Linked DNA regions of Homo sapiens: region 2 is linked to region 1. Evidence: promoter capture Hi-C in human tissues and cell types (Jung and others, 2019). All regions are on one chromosome and are shown on one strand. The core of a region is centred on a gene start or on the middle of the fragment in contact, and the rest is flanking DNA. Distances in the headings are between cores, read along the strand shown.

Region 1 (4,525 bases), core at 1,178-3,677:
AAATTTCAAGATTAGCTATTTGTTCATATGCTAGGAATTTGCTTCTATTTCTTCTGTATTCTTCAGCGTAAGGAGTAAAAACAAACTGTGTTCCCCCAAGAGGTCCAGCTAGAATTCTCCTTAGTGCCTGAATCAGATAAGAAAACAATTCCTATCATCAGTACTATTTTTTTTTTAGCTCTAAATTTTGTTGAATTCATTTACCTTCCTTAATAATTCTATTAAATCATTCGAGGTTTATCACGTACCAGACATTGTGCTACCTTGTGGCAATTATTGTTATCTAGTAGGCAAGTACTTTATGGGCCATGATTGTATATTTAACTAATAGAAATTTCAGCCTGAAATTCAAATGCTCTTTCAATGAAGCCATCACCCTTTCTGATGGGTTTTCAGCATAATATGGGTGACTTGAGCAATACAAAATCGTTCAGAAGCCTACACTGACATTTGGAAACATGATATAAACTTCATTACCTACCCATGAGAGGTTATGGCCTATTGTTATTACAGTCTTAAAGTGGTTAGATACCATAATGTTTCAGAAAACAAATGACCATCAATAATGATAAATAAAAAAGCAGAGTTGTTAATAAAATTTCTTATATTTTTAGTTAGATAACAAACTAATATATGCATTGTGCCTAGCATAGTCTGTGGTCCCAAAATGGTAAGTAGTATAATTAACTGACATTTTCATTATCACTCTGTGGCAGAATATCATAGCAGTTAAGAGTATGGTCTGGAAAATCAGTTATAGTTTGGTTACTAGCTCATCAACATATCTATTTTGATATCTTCTCCTTCCTGTAAGCTTCCTAACTTGTAAAATGAAGATAATAGTAGTGCTTACCTCTTTGAAGTGTTACAGATATTACCGCTAGATACCAATATATGCTATTATTTCTTTTATTTGTGAGAGGAAAGCCTATGAATCCATATACAGGATGAAACTAGTAAAACTAAGCCCCAACTTGGTAGAATTTCCCAAATATGCAGAGTTGTCCTCGGTTGTTTTCTCTCTTTCCTTGAACCATTTCTATACCCCTCAATGCAGAATCTATGAATCATATGGTGAATGTTTTCTTCATCCAATCAATTTGCCCCACTGCAATTATCCAAAATGTCCTTCTGACTTTTTCTTTTTTTTTTATTATACTTTAAGTTTTAGGGTACATATGCACAACACGCAGGTTAGTTACATATGTATACATGTGCCATGTTGGTGTGCTGCACCCATTAACTTGTCATTTAACATTAGGTATATCTCCTAATGCTATCCCTCCCCCCTCCCCCACCCCACAACAGGCCCCAGTGTGTGATGTTCCCCTTCCTGTGTCCATGTGTTCTCATTGTTCTATTCCAAACTATGAGTGAGAACATGCGGTGTTTGGTTTTTTGTTCTTGTGATAGTTAGCTGAGAATGATGATTTCCAGCTTCATCCATGTCCCTAAAAGGACATGACTAAATTGAATCAATGTTGAGCTCTAGTTACATTTATTTGTCACCTGAAATGTCCTTTCTACTACACAATTTCCTGATGGCATTTTTCATCTGGGCATTCTTCAAGGTATAGATTAAGGGGTTTAACATAGGAGTTATCATAGTGTAGAATATAGCAACTGCTTTATCAATAGGTAAAGTAGCTGCAGGTCTCATGTACACAAATATGCAGGGCACAAAGAATAAGATGACAACCGTGATGTGGGAGACACAGGTGGAGAGGGCTTTGTGCCTTGCCTCCAAGCTATGAGTCCTTAGGGAGCACAAGATGACCACATAGGAGACCAGCAGGAGGGCAAAGTTTAACAAGCAGATGAATCCACTGTTGGCAGCAATGAAGAGTTCCAGCATATGGGTGTCAGTGCAGGCGAGGTTGAGCAAAGGGTTCAGATCACACATAAAGTGATCTATGACATTAGGACCACAGAAAGGTAATTGGAAGATGAAGAGGATCTGTATGGTTGCATGAAGAAAGCCTCCCATCCACACCACTCCCATTAGCAGGGCACACACACACTGGTTCATGATAGTCATATAGTGCAAGGGCTTGCAGATGGCCACATAGTGGTCATAGGCCATCACAGTAAGTAGGATGCCCTCTGCACCTCCGAAGAAATGTTCTCCAAAGACTTGAGTCATGCATCCATTGAATAGGATGGCCTTCTTTCCATAGAGTGAATGTGTGATCAGGTTAGGGGTATTGACAGAGGAATAGCAGGCATCAATAAAGGAGAGATAGGCCAGGGAAAGGTACATGGGGGACCCCAGTGATGGGCTGGCAGTGATGGTGACCACAATGAGCACATATCCCACCACAGTGATGATATAGATGACAAAAAACACAACAAATATGATTTTCTGCATCTTTGGATTCTCTGTAAGCCCCAGCAAAACAAACTCTGTCATGTTATTCCTATTCTCCATGTATTTCTCATGATGATTAATTGCATTACCTGTAAAAATTTTTTATTAATACAACTTTGAATTTATTACATATCTCCATTTTAATAATAAATGCTTGAATTTTATTAAACTGTAAATTCCTATAAGGTTTTTCTTGAGATGTTAATAAAGTTTCTCAGTTCTTGAAGATTACTTGGTGAAGACTCTGTGAAGAGTATCGACATTAGAAACTCTTGTGAACAAAGTCAGGATGTCATGTGTGTATACTCAATCATCTGGGAGGCCTAAGAGCTCAATTTGAAGTAGTAGATTGGATACACGGTAGCAGCTAAACCTGAAAAGGGAGATTGACAATGAATTTAAAGGCCATGGTGTAAAGCTAAGGAATTTGCCATTTATTCTTTAGGAAATGGGGAACATTGGTAGGTTACTGTCAATATGAGTGGGAAGATGAAGAGGAATTTGAGGAGTAGGAATCTTGGAGTATCCCACTAGTACAAGTCTTTGTATGTCTTGGATGAAGTGGGCTGAGGTTCTGCAAAGCAGGTGTTAGCCAGAGAAAGGAACCCCAGTGGGCAGAATATTTAGAGTACTTGACATAAGAAGTAACTGGGTGGCTGGGCCGGTGGCTCACACCTGTAATCCCAGCACTTTAGGAGGCCTAGGCGGGTGGATTACGAGGTCAGGAAATCGAGACCATCCTGGCCAACATGGTGAAACCCCATCTCTACTAAAATACAAAAAGTTAACCAGGCGTGATGGTGCTTGCCTGTATTCCCAGCTATTTGGGAGGCTCAGGCAGGGGAATTACTTGAACTCAGGAGGCAGAAATTACAGTGAGGCCAAGATCACACCACTGCACTCCAGCCTGGGTGACAGAGAGTGACAGAGAGAGACAGAAAGAAGTATAAAAAAAGGATATAAGAGCTACTAAAATAATTCATAATGCTTATTGTCTAAATCTAATTAACTTTATAATAACTAATATTATATGCCCTTTAATAATTAATTGTCTTGCAAAAGCCATAGTAGTAAGTGCTTTGCACACATGATTCCAGTGAACACTTATAACATCCTAGGTGACCAGTATTATTTCATCAAATTTTCAGATAAGGCAGCAATATTAGTGATTAATGTTAATAGTTATGTTAACACAATGATATTTATATTATACAATAATGTAATATTATTTATATTAACATTATAACACTCATAATATTGATAATATTAACTAAAACATACTGAGCACTAGTGTCTTCTAAATGTTTTTTTGCAGGCAATCACAAAATAAACCCAGAAAATAGTACTATCATTTTTATACTTATTTTACATATTAGGAAGTAGAAGCATAGGGAAGTTGAAGATCCCATCCAAGATCAAGCAGTTTAATAAAGGACAGAGTCAAGATTAGTCACATTATACTAGTTAATTTTTTCTCTCCAAATTCTGAGCTCATGCCCTATGTTGTTATGTTATAATAAACAATGTTGAACTAATAATCTCCTTTTGATATGACCATTATGATTATACTTACTTTAATACTACTTCAGAGGCAATTTGTATGGAGCAATTTCATTAGCCGTATCCCCCCTCCCCACCCACAACACAGTGACATCTTTGAGTTCAAATATTAAGAAAAATGTGGTATTGAATCATTGAAGGTACATCTATCTTAGCTTCTCCCCTAGTCCCAGCTCTTTCCTCAACACCCCCACCCCACCAAGTCGTGGGCCCCCAGACTCTTGAACAAAATGTTGAAAATGACTACTGGCCGGGCGTGGTGGCTCACGCCTATAAGTCCAGCACTTTGGGAGGCCGAGGCGGGAGGATAACGAGGTCAGGAGATCGAGACAACCCTGGCTAACATGGTGAAACTCGGTCTCTACTAAAAATACAAAAAATTAGCCTGGTGTGGTGGCAGGTGCCTGTAGTCCCAGCTATTCGGGAGGCTGAGGCAGGAGAATGGCGTGAACCCAGGAGGCGGAGATTGCAGTGAGCCAAGATCATGCCACTGCACTCCAGCCTGGGCGACAGAGTGAAACTCTGTCTCAAAAAAAAAAAAAAAGCAACAAAAAATTAGCTGTGCATGGTGGCGGGCACTTGTGGTCCCAGCTACTT
Region 2 (4,525 bases), core at 779-3,278, 63 kb after region 1:
CCATTTGGGGGATATTTTAATGGGCAGGTATTTGTAAATCTCTTTATAGGATCAAGCAGTGTGTTCTCTATGCATTGATTAATATGCCAAAAATTAGATGATATAGCATCTGTAGAAGTGGAATGAGTGACTTTCAAGAACCCAAGGTAAGACTAAAGTAAGCAAGGTGTTACTTCAATTCATAGGAATGATAGGTCAAGTAAGAAGAGTATTGAAATTGACCACTTGATTTAGTAAAGTGAAAGTGTTATTTAGAAAGAATAACAGAGAATCAAGATGGGGTGGTTGCTTGAAAGAGATATGCTGTCCAGGGGTATAAATATATTTTTAAACGTGGGGATAGATCATACAAATATGCTGGAAGAAGGATGCAATATAGGGAGGAAAATTGTTGACATTCGAAATGGAGAAAATTGAAGGAACACTGTTCTTAAGAGTGGTAAAGAGCACGGAATCTAGTGCAACCTCTAGAGAGGTTGGCCATTGTTAGCAACACAGACAATCTGTGTATTTGAAAAACAGATGGGACATTATTTATCAGGTTAGATTGAAGTAATGTCAACAGAGACTTAGCGATTAGTTGTCATTAGTAGGATTATTTTAGGAGATAGCTGGGCTAGTGAATATTGTCACTACGTATGATATAGTTTTGTGTGTGTGTGTGTGTGTGAAGCCTTCTTTTCCTCTAACTCTCTCTTCCCTCCCTCCCTCCCTTCCTTCTCCCCTATTTCTTTCCCTCCCTCTTTTATTCCATCTTCCTCCATCTTCCTTCCTTCTTTCCTTCCTTCCTCTCCTCTTCGTTAGTTTTATTCTTTCACACACAACTTCTCTCCTCTCCCCCACATCACCAATGCAAATGTAAACCCTGCTTACAACAAAAAACATATATCCTTCGTTATTTTCCCATGCTCATATAGTCATATGCAAACACTTATAAATGGATACATGTATAGTATTTTTATTTTGTTTGCTGAATCATATTATTATACTGAAATGGCTGCAATTAATTGTTTTAAATATCTGTATTCCATATTTTTTGTTTGTTTAGTGCCATTATAAATAATGTCACAAAAACATGCCATGCATCTGTCCTTATGTTCTAGGGCTCTAATTTCTATGGGGTAGCTTTTGAAGGGAGCAGTTGTGTTGAAAGATATTGTTACTTTCATTAGAGATTGCTAACTTTTGTTCCAAAAATATTATAAAATCCATATTTTCCCTATCAGTGCAAGAAAATACCCTTTTTTATTTTTGCTAGCTATAGCTACTATCACTTTTAAAACGTTTTTGTCAGTTTCATGAATATAAGGTGATATTTGTTTTATATTTTGTATTTTTCTATTTATAGGTGAACTTCAGCACACTATTATATTTGGCCACGTTAATGTACTGTTTCTTTTTAAATTGCTGGTTTCTATCATTTGCCCAGTTTGCTATTGGTTTGTCTCTTATTTATTAATTGCTTAGAGCACTCTTTCTATTTTAAATATTAACTCTGTGCCCTCAAAATTATAAATATTTTTAAATGGTATTATTTTCCCAAATTCTTAAACAATTTTGAAATTGTCAAATATGTTTATTTTGGATTTCAATTTTTAAGATTCTCCCATCCAGAGAATGTAGAAAGTCATCTCCTTTATTAACTGGAAAGTAAATATAAAGAAAATCTAGCTTTAGTTTTATATTAAATCTTTAATTCATTTGTATTTATTTTTGTTTATGGTATTAGCTATATGTATAATTTTATGATCTTCCAGATGTAAAACTAGTTTTGGCAAACTCTTTTATTTAATAAACTGTCCTTTTCCCATATACATCCCAAATTACTTATTTCTCTCTCAATTAATTTGTAAGATTGCTGAGGTTGGGGACCATGCTTTAATCAGCCTTATATTTTTATAATGTCTTGCAATTCTGGAACATAATAACTCATAACACCTATTTGTTGAATGAATAAACAAATTATCCTAAAATTTAATGAAGCTACTAGTAACAATTATATTTTTAAGTAATTTTGTCCTGTGTTCAACTGGAATAAGGACATACAGAAAGGCATATGGAGCAAAGGAAAAATGTGACTGAGTTTGTCCTTGTGGGGCTCACTCAGAGCCCCCAGGGACAGAAAATATTATTTCTTGTGTTCTTGCTCATCTACGTTGTGACAATGGTAGGCAACATATTCATTGTTGTGACTGTGGTGGTCAGCCCAACTTTGGATGCCCCATGTACTTCTTCCTTGGCTACTTATCATTTATGGATGCTGTTCATTCTACTACAGTTACCCCAAATATGATTATAGACTTACTCTATGAGAAGAAAACCATTTCGTTCCAAGCTTGATTACCCAGATTTTTATAGGACACCTATTTGGGGGTGCTGAGATTTTACTCCTTGTTGTCATGGCCTATGATGGCTACGTGACCATCTGCAAACCCCTGCATTATTTGACCATCATGAACCAACGGGTGTGCATTCTACTGCTGCTGTTGGCCTGGGCTGGAGGTTTCTTGCATGCTGTAGTTCAACTTCTTTTTGTTTACAACCTTCCCTTCTGTGGCCCCAATGTCATTGACCATTTCATCTGTGACATGTACCCTTTATTAAAACTTGCCTGCACTGACACCTATGTTACTGGCCTCACTGTGGTTGCCAATGATGGGGCAATCTGTGTGGTCATCTTTATGCTCTTACTCTTCTCCTATGGGGTCATTCTGCACTCCCTGAAGAATCTTAGTCAGGAAGGGAGGCACAAAGCCTTATCCACCTGTGGCTCCCATATCACTGTGGTGATCCTCTTCTTTGTCCCTTGTATTTTCATGTATGTGAGACCTCCTTTGACCTTACCCATTGATAAATCCTTGACTGTGTTTTACACTGTTATCACACCTATGTTGAACCCTCTAATCTATACTTTAAGAAATGCAGAGATGAAAAATGCTATGAAGAAGCTCTGGACTAGAAAAAGAAAATGAGGTGGCAGACAAATGTATCATCTATTTTCAGTGAAGAGTTGCTCCCTCCAGGAAAGCCATTTGTGATTATTTAATGGCAGTGAAATTTTCCTCAGGTTTAATAACTAGTATGCAGTGAAAATCATTTATTACATGAATACTTGCAATAATCAAAATATATTTAGAAAATTTTAATAATTTATTGGAAAAATATATGTTCACTTTTTGTTTGTAGAATGGCTCTCGAGATGATAAATTTATGTTATTAATACTATAAATTTATTTAAGTTTATGAAAGTTTTTCTCATGTTTTTCTTTTAAATAAAGTTAATCCCTTTTTGGAATTAATAGTGCTCATTACAGATTTCAGAAGAATGAATTAAGAAATAAGACATAAAAATTTCATTTACTCCTCCCCACACAAATACAGACCACATTAATATTTGAAGTATATATTTTATTTTGTATTTGTAAGATACTATTTATATATAATTTTGTTCATATTGCTAGCATATTAAGGTTGAAGAGGAATAGTGCTTCCTTCAGTATTATACATAAGGAGACAGTATACTAAAAGAATCTGAATGAAAAAGGGAGACATGCAGAAAAATAACTAAATCTTACTTTTTTCTCCAATTGAGAAATCATATTAAGTCCTCAGGTGAAGCAGCTTGATTTGGTGCTATATTTATGTAAAAATGATCCATTGATCTTCCCAGATGTTTAGAATATCTGATAATATCTCTGCTATTTTCAATACCCCCTTCTCATGGCCTTCTAAAAAACAGCCAGGCTCTGCTTTTCATATGTAAAATTAGCGTAATCCATAATCTATGAACTTCAAATATGGAATGCAGAGCCAGATAGTAAATATTTTGGAATACACCATTTTCAAGGAAGATAGACAGTTGTGGTGGTGCATGTCAGTGGTTCCAGCTGCTCAGGAGGCTGAGGTTGGACGATTTTTTGAGCCCAGGAGGTCAAGACTGCAGTGAACCATGATCACGCTACTGCACTCTAACGTGGGTGACAGAGCAACGCTGAGAAAAAAAAAAGAAAGAAAAAGAAAAAAAGATGCTGGCAATATATGATGCTTCCATTCTTACTTTATTGATAGAATGCAGATTATTAGGTAAAAAAAGGACTAAAACATATTGTTTCGTTGGAAAGACACTTAATTCATAAAAATCTGTGTGAAAATTCCTTTTGAATCAGGCTTGAAATAAAATTTTATCTGCCCCTGACTACAGGTAGAAAACATGTAATCAAAGAAACTCATTGTTCCTGCTTCTCCTCTGTACTCTGGATTCATGAGGGACTAAGGCTAGGGAAAAACATGTCAATTTCCCTGGTAAATCACACTATGTGAGTTCACTTTGTATTATTATTTTTATCCTTATTATTATTACATGGAGATTTCTTACATAATCCAAGCTCTTCCAAAACATAGCACCATTCTCCAAATAGTATTGAGCATTTGGTAGTATCAGAGTTTATATAACTAGGTCCTGCATTTTTGGACATGTAATTAATTTTCTAATTTGTATGGTTCTATTAAGTGATGAAATAAAAAA

What was found. The method cuts DNA at HindIII sites, captures the fragments that hold promoters and counts their contacts. A contact is called where the count stands out against the background at its distance.
Region 2: a contact is called between a fragment that was not itself captured here and the fragment with the promoter of OR4C46 in region 1, in 1 of the 25 tissues and cell types used here (thymus).

The regions. Positions count from the first base shown.
Region 1 is chr11:54,601,571-54,606,095 of GRCh38, forward strand. It overlaps OR4C46 (olfactory receptor family 4 subfamily C member 46), which reads right to left and starts at 2,428. Exons shown (of 1, transcript NM_001004703.1): 1 at 1,499-2,428. The coding sequence starts at 2,428. The coding sequence ends at 1,499. The HindIII fragment of the contact is 14,998 bases long and covers 1-4,525 here.
Region 2 is chr11:54,665,243-54,669,767 of GRCh38, forward strand. It overlaps the pseudogene OR4A2P. Among named protein-coding and RNA genes, the nearest start is that of OR4A5, 39 kb to the right of the region's middle. The HindIII fragment of the contact is 3,797 bases long and covers 131-3,927 here.